3 separate regions of the Homo sapiens genome follow, and regions 1 and 3 are each linked to region 2. The links are contacts of gene promoters, found by promoter capture Hi-C in human tissues and cell types (Jung and others, 2019). All regions are on one chromosome and are shown on one strand. The core of a region is centred on a gene start or on the middle of the fragment in contact, and the rest is flanking DNA. Distances in the headings are between cores, read along the strand shown. Region 1 overlaps DGKI (diacylglycerol kinase iota). Region 2 holds the start of TMEM213 (transmembrane protein 213). Region 3 overlaps DGKI (diacylglycerol kinase iota).

The links. Contacts are between HindIII fragments. The study calls those that stand out against the background at their distance.
Region 1: a fragment that was not itself captured here is called in contact with the fragment with the promoter of TMEM213 in region 2 in 1 of the 25 tissues and cell types used here (IMR-90 fibroblasts).
Region 3: a contact is called between a fragment that was not itself captured here and the fragment with the promoter of TMEM213 in region 2, in 1 of the 25 tissues and cell types used here (aorta).

Annotation. Positions count from the first base shown.
Region 1 is chr7:137,763,383-137,767,906 of GRCh38, forward strand. All of the region lies in intron 1 of DGKI (diacylglycerol kinase iota), which reads right to left. Among named protein-coding and RNA genes, the nearest start is that of DGKI, 81 kb to the right of the region's middle. The HindIII fragment of the contact is 5,465 bases long and covers 103-4,524 here.
Region 2 is chr7:138,795,222-138,799,803 of GRCh38, forward strand. It overlaps TMEM213 (transmembrane protein 213), which reads left to right and starts at 2,773. Exons shown (of 3, transcript NM_001085429.2): 1 at 2,773-2,965. The coding sequence starts at 2,884. ATP6V0A4 (ATPase H+ transporting V0 subunit a4) reads right to left here and starts at 2,975. Exons shown (of 22, transcript NM_020632.3): 1 at 2,813-2,975. RefSeq lists a silencer at 2,743-3,037. The HindIII fragment of the contact is 6,104 bases long and covers 966-4,582 here.
Region 3 is chr7:137,738,315-137,743,320 of GRCh38, forward strand. All of the region lies in intron 1 of DGKI (diacylglycerol kinase iota), which reads right to left. Among named protein-coding and RNA genes, the nearest start is that of DGKI, 110 kb to the right of the region's middle. The HindIII fragment of the contact is 4,076 bases long and covers 1,144-5,006 here.

The sequences.
Region 1 (4,524 bases), core at 1,585-4,084, 1.0 Mb before region 2:
TGCTCTATTTAAGGCTTTGCAACTTTAATTTTCCTAAAAAGAAATCATGCTGCTTTGGCTTAACATTCTCAGTGGGCCAGTGTTTGCATTTAGGGATCACTCATCTCCTGTCCAACGACTCCCAAACTGCTTGTTTCATAACCTGTTCAAGAATGTTTTATGGAAATTATGTCAGATTCTCTCATCTACAGTGTGTGAAATCCAAAGTATCCTCATTTTTGAAAACTTAGAAAATGTTTGCCTATCTCAGCTTTCCAGCTCCTGTCCCATTTATTATCCACGATTCTCCAAAGATTCTAAACAGTAATTCTATAGCTTCTCTCTGTATCTAGAATGTAATTCATCTGGGCTAAAAAGTTTTGACTCATGTAGCTCAGGCCAGTGTTTCCTTACACCTTCCTCATCCAGAGAGAATTTCAGGCCATGCCTGTCTGCTCCAAGTCTCCAATAAGGTCTCAACCTCCACATAGAGCAATTTTCAGTCTCTTGTAATAATTAGCAAAGCATGCTGTAATACTTCTAACCAGTAAGGATAGGGTAGTCTAGGCCTGAAAAACAGACCGCTAAATAAGGGACAGGTCGTCTACCTGCTTTGGCATTTGTTCAGTGTTTGCATATTGTCACAACATTTATTTTAAGCCCCTAAAAGTGTCAAGTGATGGCTCCCACATGGACTTTGATCAGACACTATCACAGATCTAGGCCCAGAGCCCACGAATATTTACTAAATATGCAGTAGGTGGATGCTCACCCTAGATGTGAACGGTGTTGCCCTAGGACAGATCATATTCCTTAAAGTGCCCCTCCCCTCCTCTGACTCTTTGTCCAGGGTGGCACCCTGGGAAGCTGTGTTTTTAAAAAGCTTCCTGAGCACACCAGAATTATTGTTCCAGGTGAACAGATTCTGAACCTTTAAGTTAATTTCATCCTTCAGAAGGAACTTTTACATTGAGAAAGGGTCAGAGTTCCTTTTTCTGCCCTCTTTTTGCCAAATATACACATCTAAAAGAATTTGCAGAGAGCCAGGATGGCTCCTGTTTAATTTGTTTCATATATTCTCTAACATAGCATCCCTTGTAGCAGTACTCAATAAGGATCTGAAAGTTCATTTCGTTCATTTCCACCCGACTTCTCTTGTGCTGGTCCACAAGAGAAGTTCATTCAAGCCCTGCTTAGATGCCTCCAAAGGCAGACCACTCACCACCCCAAAAGGCAGATGTCCTCTACTGACAGTGCTCTTCGGCAGTATGGCCTTTCCTCCTGGTTTGTCTAGGGTACCTGCAACAGCCCTAGTTGGTACCTTTTGTCCTGTTTTATTGAATAAGCCTGGCTTTCACTCTGAATGTCCTGGTTTGAAAGATAATACAGTGCCCATATTATTTTCCTGCAGCTCAGGATAAACTGTGAATGCCTTACCCTGAGCTATGAATATGTTCTCAATCCCATCCCCACCTCCTACCTCTCCAATCTCTTCCTCCAGTACTTCCTTCTTTCTGCCCCCTACCTATACCACAGAGAAATGGTCTCCTTCCACATTTTACCCAAGAGGCTACAGGGGCTTCCAGGGTAACTTGCCTAAAGTTTCACAGCTAATAAGGAGAAGACAGTTTTCTTTTCCATCTGAATATACTCAGTTCCTTCCATGGTTTCTCCTGAGACATGCTTCCAGACCCTCAGGCACCTGCTAATTGCCCTTCTCTGGGCAAACATGAGGCGCCAGGTGCAGTCCAACCATTGAAGAGGGGTGTTACTTCCTGAGTTCAATACATTAACGTTCCATTAATGCAGCTTTTTAGTTGCCTCAGTCAGATTTAGTGGCTTATACTGAGCTTTTAGTCAAATAAAACTTCAGTGTCTTTCTCTACCAGAACTACTGCCAGTAGATTTTTTTCTCCCACCATTATGTATCGTTGATTTTTTTATTCCAAAATAAGATTTTACATTTATCCCTTTGAAATGTCATTGTGTTATTTTTAACCCAGCATTCCAGCATATCTATATCATTTTGAGACATATTTTTGTTTTTGTCATCGATTACATTGGCCATCCTTTCCAGTTTTGTGTCTGCCACAAATTTGATGAGCACACTTCTTGTGCCCTCTTCCAACTTGCTGGCAAAGTCACTGCCCAGAGCAAGTCCAAGATCTGAGAATTTTAAAATGACCTCACTAATGATATTCCTTGTCTTGTCTGTGATGTCACAGTCTTCCAAAGAGCCTTCCTGCAGAAACCGTTCACTTGTCAAGGTTTAGAACCACTGCCACCATCAGCCCTTTGTAATGATAAGTCAACATGAGAGTCTTCATAGAGATGATGCAGCTGAATCCCACGTCGTTTACTAAACAATTCAGCTAAGTAGCCCTCAGGTCTGGATGGACTCTAAGGACAGGCAGCATACGATACGGAGGCCTCCCGGAATCCTGCAGCCCCAAGTCACCCAACCTTCCCACTGGCTAAAGAGAGAAAGGAGACACACTCTATTGTCAATTTCACCCCCAAAGCTTTATCTATGTTCCTAGGAGAAGTCACATCTATACCTTACACTGGTATCAGGCATTTAAATCAGTATGGCAAGTCAGGTTTTCAGAAAATATCACTGAAAGGAAAAGGCCAAGAGAAGCTACCTGAACAGGAGATTTCCTAAATGTCAGATCTAGTTCCTGCCTGAAACCAGCTCTCAGCCCCTTTCATTTACAGATGAAGATAAGAGGAGAAAAGAGCTAGAACAAGATTGTTCAGGACTTACGATCCTAAGAGGAAAGGAAGAAAGGTATACACCAGGAAAGCTCAAACAGAATGAAAAGTGAACCCTCCCGTTATTCTGAGACAAATATCATGGGATCCTCCAGCCTAACAGGAAAATGAAGCAAACTCTAAGAAACAAATATTTCCAATGGTGATCTAATCGGACTTCCATCAAATATGGTTGTGTCAACGTGATGTTCATCTCTACTCCCTTCCCAACCTCCAACATAATGAAAGTAATTAAGTTTTTTTAAAAAGTAAAGTTCCACAAGGACACAGAGAAATGGAGAGGTAGAAATAAATGTTAACAGTCTTCTGGAAGATGGAAAGTGAATTGACAAGTTATTACTAACCTATTAGCACAAAGAAAGTTACAAATCTCAAAGAGCAAAACCAAGAAAAAGCAAGCCAATTTGCACGGAGCCCCTCAGAAAAGCTGAGGAATTGGAGGAGGAATTGGAAGTGTCATGGACTTCCTCCAGGGCAAAGAGAATCTTCCTTATTCCCTCCTTCCCACTCAGCACACCCAGGGCAGGACAGGAGGAATTTCTTTTTCTAGAGAAACTGAAAGAGGGATCCTCAGGAACTAGGGACTCAAATAGGGAGGGCTTGCAGGGTGGTGAGGGTGGTGCATGGGTAAACGTGAGTCTGAAAAGAGAGAATTGAGTGAAAGTCAACACCCACAATGAGATCTTTCTGTTTCCCACTCCAAACTTGGCTCCCACAACACCTGCAGCAGGTGCACAGCCCCAGGAACAAGTCTGGGTGGTTCTATTATGGAGATTCTGGCCAGCCCAAGGGAAAAGCTTCCAGATGCTGACATCTGAGGATCCTCCAAGTGAACAGATCTGTGATCCTAGGCCACTCTGCAGTGGGGGGCCACTACCAGACGAGCCGGGGCCACCCACAGAAGGTGTCCTGTCAGCTCTTCAGAGCCTTATTCATGTCTGTGACCTGATGGGGGGGCCACTACCAGATGAGCCTGGGCCACCCACGGAAGTTATCCTGTCAGCTCTTCAGAGCCTTGTTCATGTATGTGACCTGATGGCTGCAGATCTCCTGCCATTGCAGGAAAGCCACCAGTATGAAAGACAGGGCCAAAGTACTCAATTAGGAAGAAAGAACTGAAAAATAAAAGAACAGAACAAAAATAAGAAACAGCTACTGGGCTTTTAAAGTGTCACAGGGGAAAAAAAACTCTTTGGTAAGAGTTACAAGATAAAGTTAAAGCAATCTCCCAGAATGTAGGTCAAAGGTAATGAAGAGATAAAGGTAAGAAAATTAGAGGATAAATTCAGGACATACAACTTCCATCTAATAAGAGTTCCAAAAGAGAAGAGAAGGGAAGAGAAGAGAAGAGAAGAGAAGAGAAGAGAAGAGAAGAGAAGAGAAGAGAAGAGAAGAGTAGAGTAGGAGGAAGAGGAAGAGAAGAGAAGAGAAGAGAAGGAGAAGGAGAAGAGAAGAGAAGAGAAGGAGAAGAGATAATAATATACATGTGGCTCCACTATAAATAGTATTTGTAAAATCTTAATCATTTAAAAAGTGTAGTGGTTAAAAGTAGACTCTGGAGCCTCGTTTACTTTGGTTTGAAGTCTGGCTCCACCAGCTACTACCTACATGACTTTGGAAAGTTAGTTAACCCAGGTCTCAATGTCCGTATCTGCAAAATGGAAAGAATAACAGTATCTGCTTTACATGGTTGCTATAAAGATTAGTTAATACATGTCTAAAGCTCTTCGACAGTGTCTTGCACCCAGAAAATACATAATAAAGGTGAGC
Region 2 (4,582 bases), core at 1,523-4,022:
TAACAAAGTTCTTCCATCTGTAGATAGGAGAATGTTTGTCCTACAAACAGCTCATCTAAAACAGTCCGACATCACATAACAATGATAAAATAGGGAGGGAGGGCCAACACATTATCCCCCTCCTCCACATCCACTGCTTGCCAGAAAAGCTTTCCCTGATACGACTTGATAGGATGGTCTCAGCTTAGGCTGCAGATGCTGTTCAATCCACCACTACAATAACCCCAGGCAGGCCATCTTACATGTTTGCATACCTCAGGTTCCGATTCCATAGGAGGGACAGGCTCTGCTCACGTCAAACACATTAAAATGCACCCAGCGTCCCACATTAAATCGTTTCCGTTTAAACATTTCAAGTGAACTGTATAACTTTGCTTTTGAAACAATCATTTATTTTGCCCAGTTTTTGATTGTTCAAATTTTTGTTTGTTTGTTTGGGGACAGGGTCTCACTGTGTCACCCAGGCTGGAGTGCAGTGGTGCCATCTCAGCTCACTGCAGCCTCAACCTCCTGGGCTCAAGTGATCCTCCCACCTCAGCCTCCTGAGTAGCTGAGACTACAGGTGCACACTACCATACCCAAGTAATTTTTTTGTGTTTTTTTTTGTTTGTTTTGCGGAGGCAGGGTCTTACTATGTTGTGCAGGCTGGTCTTGAACTCCCTGGCTCAAGTGATCTTCCCACCTCGGCCTCCCAAAGTGTTGGGATGACAGGCGTGTGCCAATATGCCTGGTCTGTTCTTCAAATTTTGGATCTGAGAATATTTTCTCAGGTCTCAAACATTTTTGAGATCCTTGGAAATCTTGGGGATTCCACGTACCGCTGTTATCCCTAGTACCCATTGGATAAATCAGTCCTGCCCTGTGAAGCCCACTGCAGGGTTTACTTGTGAGGAAAACATCGAGGACAGCATTTGTTCTACTAAGCAGCGTCCTCTCTGTGGGGACCTTGAGTTCCTTGAGCACAAGGGCTGTGTGGTCTTTCTCACCCCCAGGTCCCCACACCGAGAGCCTGGCCTGGCATGCAACTGTTTAATGTTCAACTAGTGGTAATGCCTAAACTGGACTTCTGTGCACTGACTGAAAATCACCCTTCCTAGGGCACGTTGGCCCTATCCCCAAATCCAGGAACATAGGCCACCACTATTTTATATCTTAGAGCCAATTAGAAAAAAGTGCCTCCCCTGGGCTGTTACACTCCACTAGGAAATCTTTCCTTGGGGCTTACTCACGCCTTCTATGTCTTTCCACAGAGCTGGAGTCCACCCCTCACCCTTACCAGGCCCATTCATGCGCAGGAACACTTCCACACATGGCAGGCTGTGTGCACACAGACGATTCCCTCGCCTTTATAGGTGCTATTCCTTTGACTTGAAAAGCCCATCAACTCTAATCTGCACATACAAACTTCAGCACCCAGCCCAAATGTCACTTTCTCTGTGAATCCTTCCCCTATACCTCTCAGGCAGAGTTCATCCCATCCTCCTTTTTATTCCCATCACAGTGGAAGGTACCCCTATTTGAGTCTTGCCAGGTTGCATCAAATTTCTTTCTTCCGGGTTTGGTTCCCTGCTGCACTGTGCTCTCAAGGGGAAGAGGCGTGTCTCAGTCATCTCAGTCTCCAGTGCCTAGGATGAGACCTTTTATATACATGTGGGTCTTCAATAAATGTTTTAGACGGAATGCAGAGCTCTAGTCAAGTTACTCCTCAGCTCAAAATCTCTACAGAACCTTCCCCTTTGCTTCCTGACTTTGTTTCAAATTCCTCTACCAGGCACGCAGAAGCTTAGCCCACAGCTCTCCTCTTGCCTCCCCACCTCACATGCCTTGGCTCACCTGCGCTTCTGGGTGCTGCTGGTACAGCCACCCTCTGACACTTCCTTACCTCTGGACCTTTGCTCATCTGTCCCTCTACCTATAATGCCATCTTCCCCTCTCCCCCTGTCAAAATTCTAGCCATCCTTCAAGGCCCAGGCCAAATGCCATTTTCTTTTTTTTTTTTTTTTTTTTTTTGGAGATGGAGTCTCCCTCTGTCGGCCAAGCTGGAATGCAGGGTCAGGAGCATCTCAGCTTACTGCAACCTCTGTCTTCCGGGTTCAAGCGATTTTCCTGCCTCAGCTTCCCAAGTGGCTGGGACTACAGGCATGCACCACCACACCTGGCTAATTTTTGTATTTTTATTAGAGATGGGGTTTCACCATTTTGGCCAGGCTGGTCTTGAACTCCTGACTTCAAGTGATCCACCTGCCTCAGCCTCCCAGAGTGCTGGGACTACAGGGTGAGCCCCCATGCCCAACCTCAAATGCCATTTTCTTCTTGAAGCATCCCATCAGCAGATGTGGCCTCCACTGTTGAAACCCACAGTGCTTTATCCTCCCAAGCCATTCCTCAAACACGGTTCTGGGGTTGAATGATGCGTGTTTGTAATTAACGCACTTCGACAGCAGGTATCTCCCAACTTCAGCATAGTGGGTGCTCAGTGAATATTGGCCCAAATGGAATTGAGCATCCATGCTACACCTGCAGATGGGAGAGGCAGCAAACTCATGTCCCAGGAACCAGCATGACACAGATCTCTCTTGTCCTCCCCTTGTTTCTCAATAAGGACAATATTTGCGCTCAGGGGAGAAGGGCACAGCTTGCCCCTCCCTTCCTTCCTCAGCCAACGGTTTGGCTTCCCTTCTAGAGAGGTGAGAGAAGGTGTGACAGGCCAAGTTTCCTTTGCTCCACCCCATGGTGTTTCCCCCAAACACCCAGCATAAGTTCACCTCTGGCAGAGTTGCTTTCCAGCTCCTGCAGGTGGGAGTCGACTCACCTGCAGCAGGCACTCGGCACAACTCCGCAGGACCGGCTCACCTGCACCGGGCACTCAGCACAGCCTCCAGCATGCAGCGCCTCCCCGCTGCCACCCGGGCCACCCTGATCCTCAGCCTGGCCTTTGCCTCCCTCCACTCGGCTTGCTCGGCAGGTAGCGTTATGAGCTTTATTCATGGCCAGGCTGGGAAGGGGGAGGGAAGGAGGGAAGAGAGGTGGGAGGGAAAGAAGGAGGAGGGGGAAGATTCTTTGGCCAGGGTTGGTCCTGCGCAAAGGAAGGAGGAAACAGAACTTTCTCATCTGAAGGATTAGGCAGGGGGTGGGAGGTGGGGCTGGGGCAGGGGGGGTCTTAGGTTGGCCTGAGACGGAGATCAGATACTCAATTCCTCAGCTAAGGCAGGAGCAGCCACCTCTCTTGGCCTTTGCCACAAAGAAAGGAAAAAGTTATTTGCTGGAGTCTCACCCATCAGGGGACCAAAATGATATCTCTTGGTCCGCTGTGTCCTGAAGGCTCCTTCTCAGCCCCACTGGGCTGTCGTGCTTTGCAATCCTCCCTGTGCACATTTGTGTCTGACCTTCCCTTTCCTAAGTCCTCCATCCCTCCCTGCCCCTTGTACTTTCTCTGCGACTTTCACAAAACCTGACTGCCAGGAGGGCTGCCATTCACTGTCTCCCACCCTCCTGCCTCCCCGGGCACTGGAAATGCTGGGTTATCTCCCCATTTTCCTGTGGAGGCTGGAAGGCTGATCTACATCCCCTGCCTTGCCCTGCCAGGCCGGGTTCTGCAACTCACGGCAGAGGGACCTTGGTTACCATCTTCTGCTCCTGGCTTTGATCTTGTTCTCAGCCACCTCAGAACACCACCACACTCTCTATGCCCTGCAACACTCCTGCTCCCAAAACCAACCCTGCCCCCAAAGTCCTGTGTCTGCCCCTCTCATCCTCAGACTCTCTTCTGTAGCCACTGCCAGGGGTGTTGGTGTTGAGGTTCAAGACGTGCACTCTTGAGCCGCTGAGCCTGAACCCAGGTCCAGCTTCCATGACTCACTAGCTATGCGACCTCGAGCAAATGACTTTACCTCTCTATGCCAAGTTTCCTCCTTTATCTCATGGGGACAATCATAGTGCTTGTCAAGACGAATTGATGTAATTTCATGTAAAGAACTTAGAAATAGCCCATAGAACACACACAGTGAATGTCAGCAATTATGGTAAGCACATTCATTTTATTTTCCAACTTCACCCCTCCCCAAATAAGAGTGCTGAGTTTCTTTCTACTTACCCCGACAGTGCCTTGCTTATGATGGGAGCTCAGAATCAGAAGACAAGTTTAACTGCACTGAATCGTTGGGTCTTCCCAGCAGCTTTTCTTGTGGAATAGCCCCAAGTAGGGCCAGTCCCTCCCTCGCTTCTGGCTCTGCTTATAAGGGAGGAGGGCGATGTTTAAATTCTTAGGAATTTTCACCGGGGCTATTCCATTTGAACCACAGAAAATTGCTGATATTGAACAATTTTCACCTATAACAATGGCAATTTCATAAGCTCGAACCTAACCCTAGCATTCAGCCAACTAGGGTTTTTTTCCACTCACTTTGGAAGAGGACAACTTCCATTCTAGGTGTAGAGGTGAAATGAAAGTCAGGGCCAAGGAAGTTATTTGAGTCATAAGGAAAATTAGAATAGTGAGGAATCAGTTTCTCCAAAACAAATAAAGACCAGGCTCTAAGCCATTTAGCTGTAAATAATTTACAGTAACAGATTGCATCGAGGC
Region 3 (5,006 bases), core at 1,932-4,431, 1.1 Mb before region 2:
CATATTAAATACATACCTCTACACAATTATATGTATAATCTAATTATAATGGGTTATACAAAGGAGAACTTTGGGCTACCTGAAGAGCATTTATAAGAAGGATCTAGTCACTGTAAGATAGGGCTATTTTCACTACCAAAGAATTATTCACAATGGTATGGTGATATTTACCTTTCAATATAAAATGCCATATTAATAAACTGCATTTGTAGGATGTGCTAAAAACAAAAAGATGTGTTTATAAACTTTAAGCATTAACCACTGAGACCAACCTGACTTTGTCCATTCAAATTCCAGCTCCCAGAGAAAACTTCCTCTTGTACAGTTTTGGGCTTGGAAAATATCCTTCAAACTATCTAGCCCTGTCTTATGTGAACACTTTTTTAGAAATTCACAGAGAAGATGAGGTTCCCCCCCCCCCTTTCCTTTTCATATCCGATTTACTAGATACTCATTGTAAAGTCTGCCAGACTTCCATTGTCTATTTTCTTTGATACAATTTTGAAAGTATCCATCATCAGCCAAACCAGAACACGCAGGTCTGGTTTCATCCTAACTGTTCATGCCCATAACCATAAAAAAGAAGACACAGATTCATCCCTCATCCCTCAGGTCTCGTTGATTTGTGCCAAATGAGGGCAATTACTAGACATATGGACACCTCCTCTACCTAATGAAAAGCTGACTCCCTCATTCAGTCATGTTTTTTATCCAAATATGTTTTAAGTGAACCAGCAAAACCATGCAGAGCCACTTCACAGAGTATGCAGTTTGTGGACTGAAAATAGAGGGATCAGGAGCTGAAATCCAGCCCATGCTCAGCACTCTGAGCCACGTGTCTCAGCATGGATCTACATCCACCTGAAAGAAGGGCATCTCTTCCTTTGCACCAAGTAACCTCAGCTTGCCAAGTCAAGTGCCTAAAGGGCTGTTTTCTCCTACGGCACATTTTTCAACATTCACATCAGGTATCCTATTGTCTACCCAGTGTCATAGGACTATTTGACCTGTGAAATCACATCTCCCTGGGTCTCATTTTCCTCATCTCTAAAATGAAAAGACGGGCAAAATAAATTCTAAACCTCCTTCCATGTTAAAAACTCTAAAGAACAAACAACCTAGGCTTCCCTGGCTCTTTCAGAGTTACGGTGTAATCTGCCAAAGAGGAAAAATAACGACTAGACCTCGAGATCCTAGCGGCTTCCTATGGGACCTCATGCAGGGCCTCTCTGGGAACTCCAGCCCTGGCTTACTTGCTAATTTCCCATGGGTCTTCCTTAGATAGCCTTTCTCCAATGGGAAGAACAAAACTCATTTGCCCTGCACACAACATAGTCAGAATGGCCAATGACAGAGTAACTATAAAAGGGTTTAGCGAATGTAAAAAGTGCTACACGCATGTGTACACTAGATCCTCCCAGCAGCTTTTATTCCCCAGACTGCCCAGAGAAAGTTGTTTTTGGTCCCTGTTTTTCTTATTTGTCAATAGAGCATATGAGAGTGATCATCCACTTTCCAGTTTATTTTTGCCACTTGCAGAATCGAAATGGCAGTCAAGAAAAGGTTGAACCTGAGGTCTGTCTCTGCTAAGTGAGAACTACTGTTGGTTGAACTATTCCCACTGGTGTTGCCCAGTGATTCCGCTCCACCATGTCTTTGAAGGTTGGTAGGGGAAAAGGTGAAGCATCTCATGGCAACAAAGACTATCAACCTCACTCTGTTGGAATAAAGCTAGTCAACCTACCACTGTATTTCACAACAATTCAAATCCAGGTATCTCTCCTACTTAAATCCTTACATCAGGATTTGGAAATTCAGGATTCTGACAAATTGAAGCACAAATTCCATTTATGCAACCTTGAAGAGATACATACATGCAGAAATCCACATTCTTGGGAATAAGTTTAAAGTATCTTGGTTTATCAATTCTGGAGGAAAGACCAGCTTCCTCTGTCTGTCAATTTTGATTTTATTCCCATCATTCTGGGCAAAAAGTGAGGTTAAAACAGTACTGCCTGACATGAGTTCAGATGTTTGGTGTGAGGAATCTCTACAGGGAGGACCCCTGAGGTCAGATTCATAAGCTCCCTGGGGCCTACAGCCTGACTGCTTTGCATCTCCACTTCAGTCCCCTCCAAAGTATGTCAGCAATGGCAGGTGTATGGTGTAAAGCTATCAAGCTGTTTCTTGGGATTCACCACAGTCACACTTCCCTACTTCAAAACCAGAGAATCAGAGGTCGTCTGCAAGAAATGGAGACTAGAAATTAGCCAGACCAGCCCAATACTTTTAATCCCCTCCCCTACCCGATATCCCCGCACAAAAACAACCATAACAACTAAGCAACATGCTTGGCTGTTCAGTATGTTCAAATGTCATGTGAATATTTAACCAGGGAAATATCTCTGGAAAACGGCTATGATTTGCTGGTGACATAATGCTCAGCACATGACTATAATTTAAAATAACCATCCAATATAAACTAAATTCATGAACAATGAGGCTTTTCTCATGCAAAAGCTGGTCTATACAGCCACACCCTATTTTTAAGGTAATTATAAGATTGGAAGTAGAACAAGCTTCAGAAGTGACTCTGGGTCCAAATCCTAATCCTGTCACACGCTGAGTAACTAGGTAAATGAGCTCACCTCTCTGAGCCTGAATTTCCTCACTGATAAAAAGGGTGGCTAAGTCTTAATTTTTTTTTTATTATTTTGAGAACTAGAAAAATAAATTTAAATAGGCTAAGGAGTGCTTGTCCGAGAGTGATGGGACATCACCACTGTTCCTTGCTCCAAGTCATTCAGCTCACCTTTCTTGCCTTTCCACCAAACCAGAAACACCAAAAGGAGAAAAGCAATCCAGCAGGTGCTATGCACAGGCAATGTCTAGCTGAAACATCTTCTTGATTTTAATTAGTAAAAGATAATAAGAGTGCTAAAGTCAGGTGCGCTCTTCCGTACATAAACATCAGAGTCATTATTCATGCCAGCAGTTTTACAGATGCCTCTTCACACAAACCTGACATTTACAATACTTGGAGAAAATGCAGATGGACAAGTGAAGTGCTGAGGTTTGAAAAGAGGGCATGCGAAAAACATTACCCACACTTAAAGAAGAAAATTAATCCCACAAGGTTCCTTCTGGCTTATCCCAACTTCTGATTTTGAATATGTCATGTCCCTCTGTACACTGACTCCTTCCTTTTAGGATCACAGAGGTTATGGTTTCAGTGGAAAGATTTCATTGGAATGCATGGTGTGGTGCTCTAAGAGCATCTGTGTCTGAACGATAAGATGAAACAAACCACAGGTGCTGAATCTGCACAGAAACCAGCTCGCCAAACATGACCACCTGTACCCAAATATCTATTTGAATCACTGAGAATGACAGTACCTCATGGGCACAGAGGTTGAATCTAGTTAAGATAATTCTCTCAACAAATTTGTATGCTCACTCCAATTTCATGAATGTGCAACAGTGGGTGATCTGGAAAAGCATGGTCAACAGTCAACAAGAATATCATCTCTTGATTCTAGCAATGCTGAAAACCATAGGGGCTGCTTTCTAGTAATGAAGCTCTCAGTGCTTTTACATCTATAAATACAATGTAAAAAAAAATTCTTACTTAAAAAAATTCCTGTCAAAAATGTATATTAGCCTTATGGATAGCTGGAGAAAAGTTATGAGTACACAGCACGTCCTTAGTGCCTGACTCCTAGTTTCTCCAAACCAATGGAAAAATCAAATATCTATTCTTTAATAACGATCTCCCATAAACAGTTCCTGGGTAGAGTCGGATTTATAGTGTACCTTCTTCCAAACAGGAAAAGAGATAAACTCACACTGTTCTCATATGCCAAAGGCATTTCTTTGGCTCAGAGGTTGTTCCCAAACTGATGACTGCCATCCCTCCTTCCACCCCCAACCCCCACCCACCTACTTCCATTCCAATTCTGTCAGCTCTGGCAGTGGTTGGTGCGCTGTTACATCCAAAAGGATAAAAAAAAAATAAAGGAAGAAACAGAACTTCAAAATCCTTCCTAGGTAGGGCCCCTTCTGCAATAGGAAAAGAAGCAGAGAACCTCAAATTTGCTCTGGGCAGAAACAGAGCCTTAATTAAAGAAGTGCCAGTGATCTAGCCTGGGACCCACTGCTATGGCCAGATGTACACAAGAATGCCCACAGTAGCTCCCGTCACTCCCACTCACTCCCACAGCCACAAGAGACCTTAATATGCAGACCCATGTGCACCCGTAAGTCATTTCCAAGTCAGAGACAGGTTTGGACCCACATAATGAAATTAATACCCATGCTTAAAACACACACTTATGAGAATGAAAGCCTAGATGTATAAATAGCCAATGTTTTACTCAATGTTACATCAAGAAAGGTACTCAGCTACCGGGGGAAAAAAAATAAAGTCAGAAAGGAAAATTTAATTGTGTGAGTGGGTTAACAGGCTTGATCCCAGAAGTAACCACTAAAATTTTATGCATAATGGAATTTATTACAAAAGATAATGAATAAAAAGATAAAAATGGAAAAATCGAAGGCTGTTTTATTACAGTCAAAGCATCTAACAAAACGAAGTTCTAGTGGGAACTGGGCTTTAAAATTATAGTGAAGTCACAAATAGAAAACAAAAAAGAGCAGGAGTCGCTAATCTTGAGTCACATAAAATAGACTTTAAACCAACAAGAGTAAAAAAGGACAAAGAAGGACACTACATAATGATAAAGAATTCAATTCAACAAGAAGACTTAAATATCCTAAATATATACGTACCCAACATTGGAGGACCCAGATTTATACAACAATTACTTTTAGACCTAAGAAAAGACTTTGACAGACACACGATAACAGTAGGGGACCTCTAACACATTGACAGTATTAGACAGATCACTGAGGCAGAAAACTGGCACAGAAATTCTGGACTTAAATTGGACACTGAACCAACTGGATCTAATTGACATCTACAGGATACTTCATCCAGCAGCCAAAGA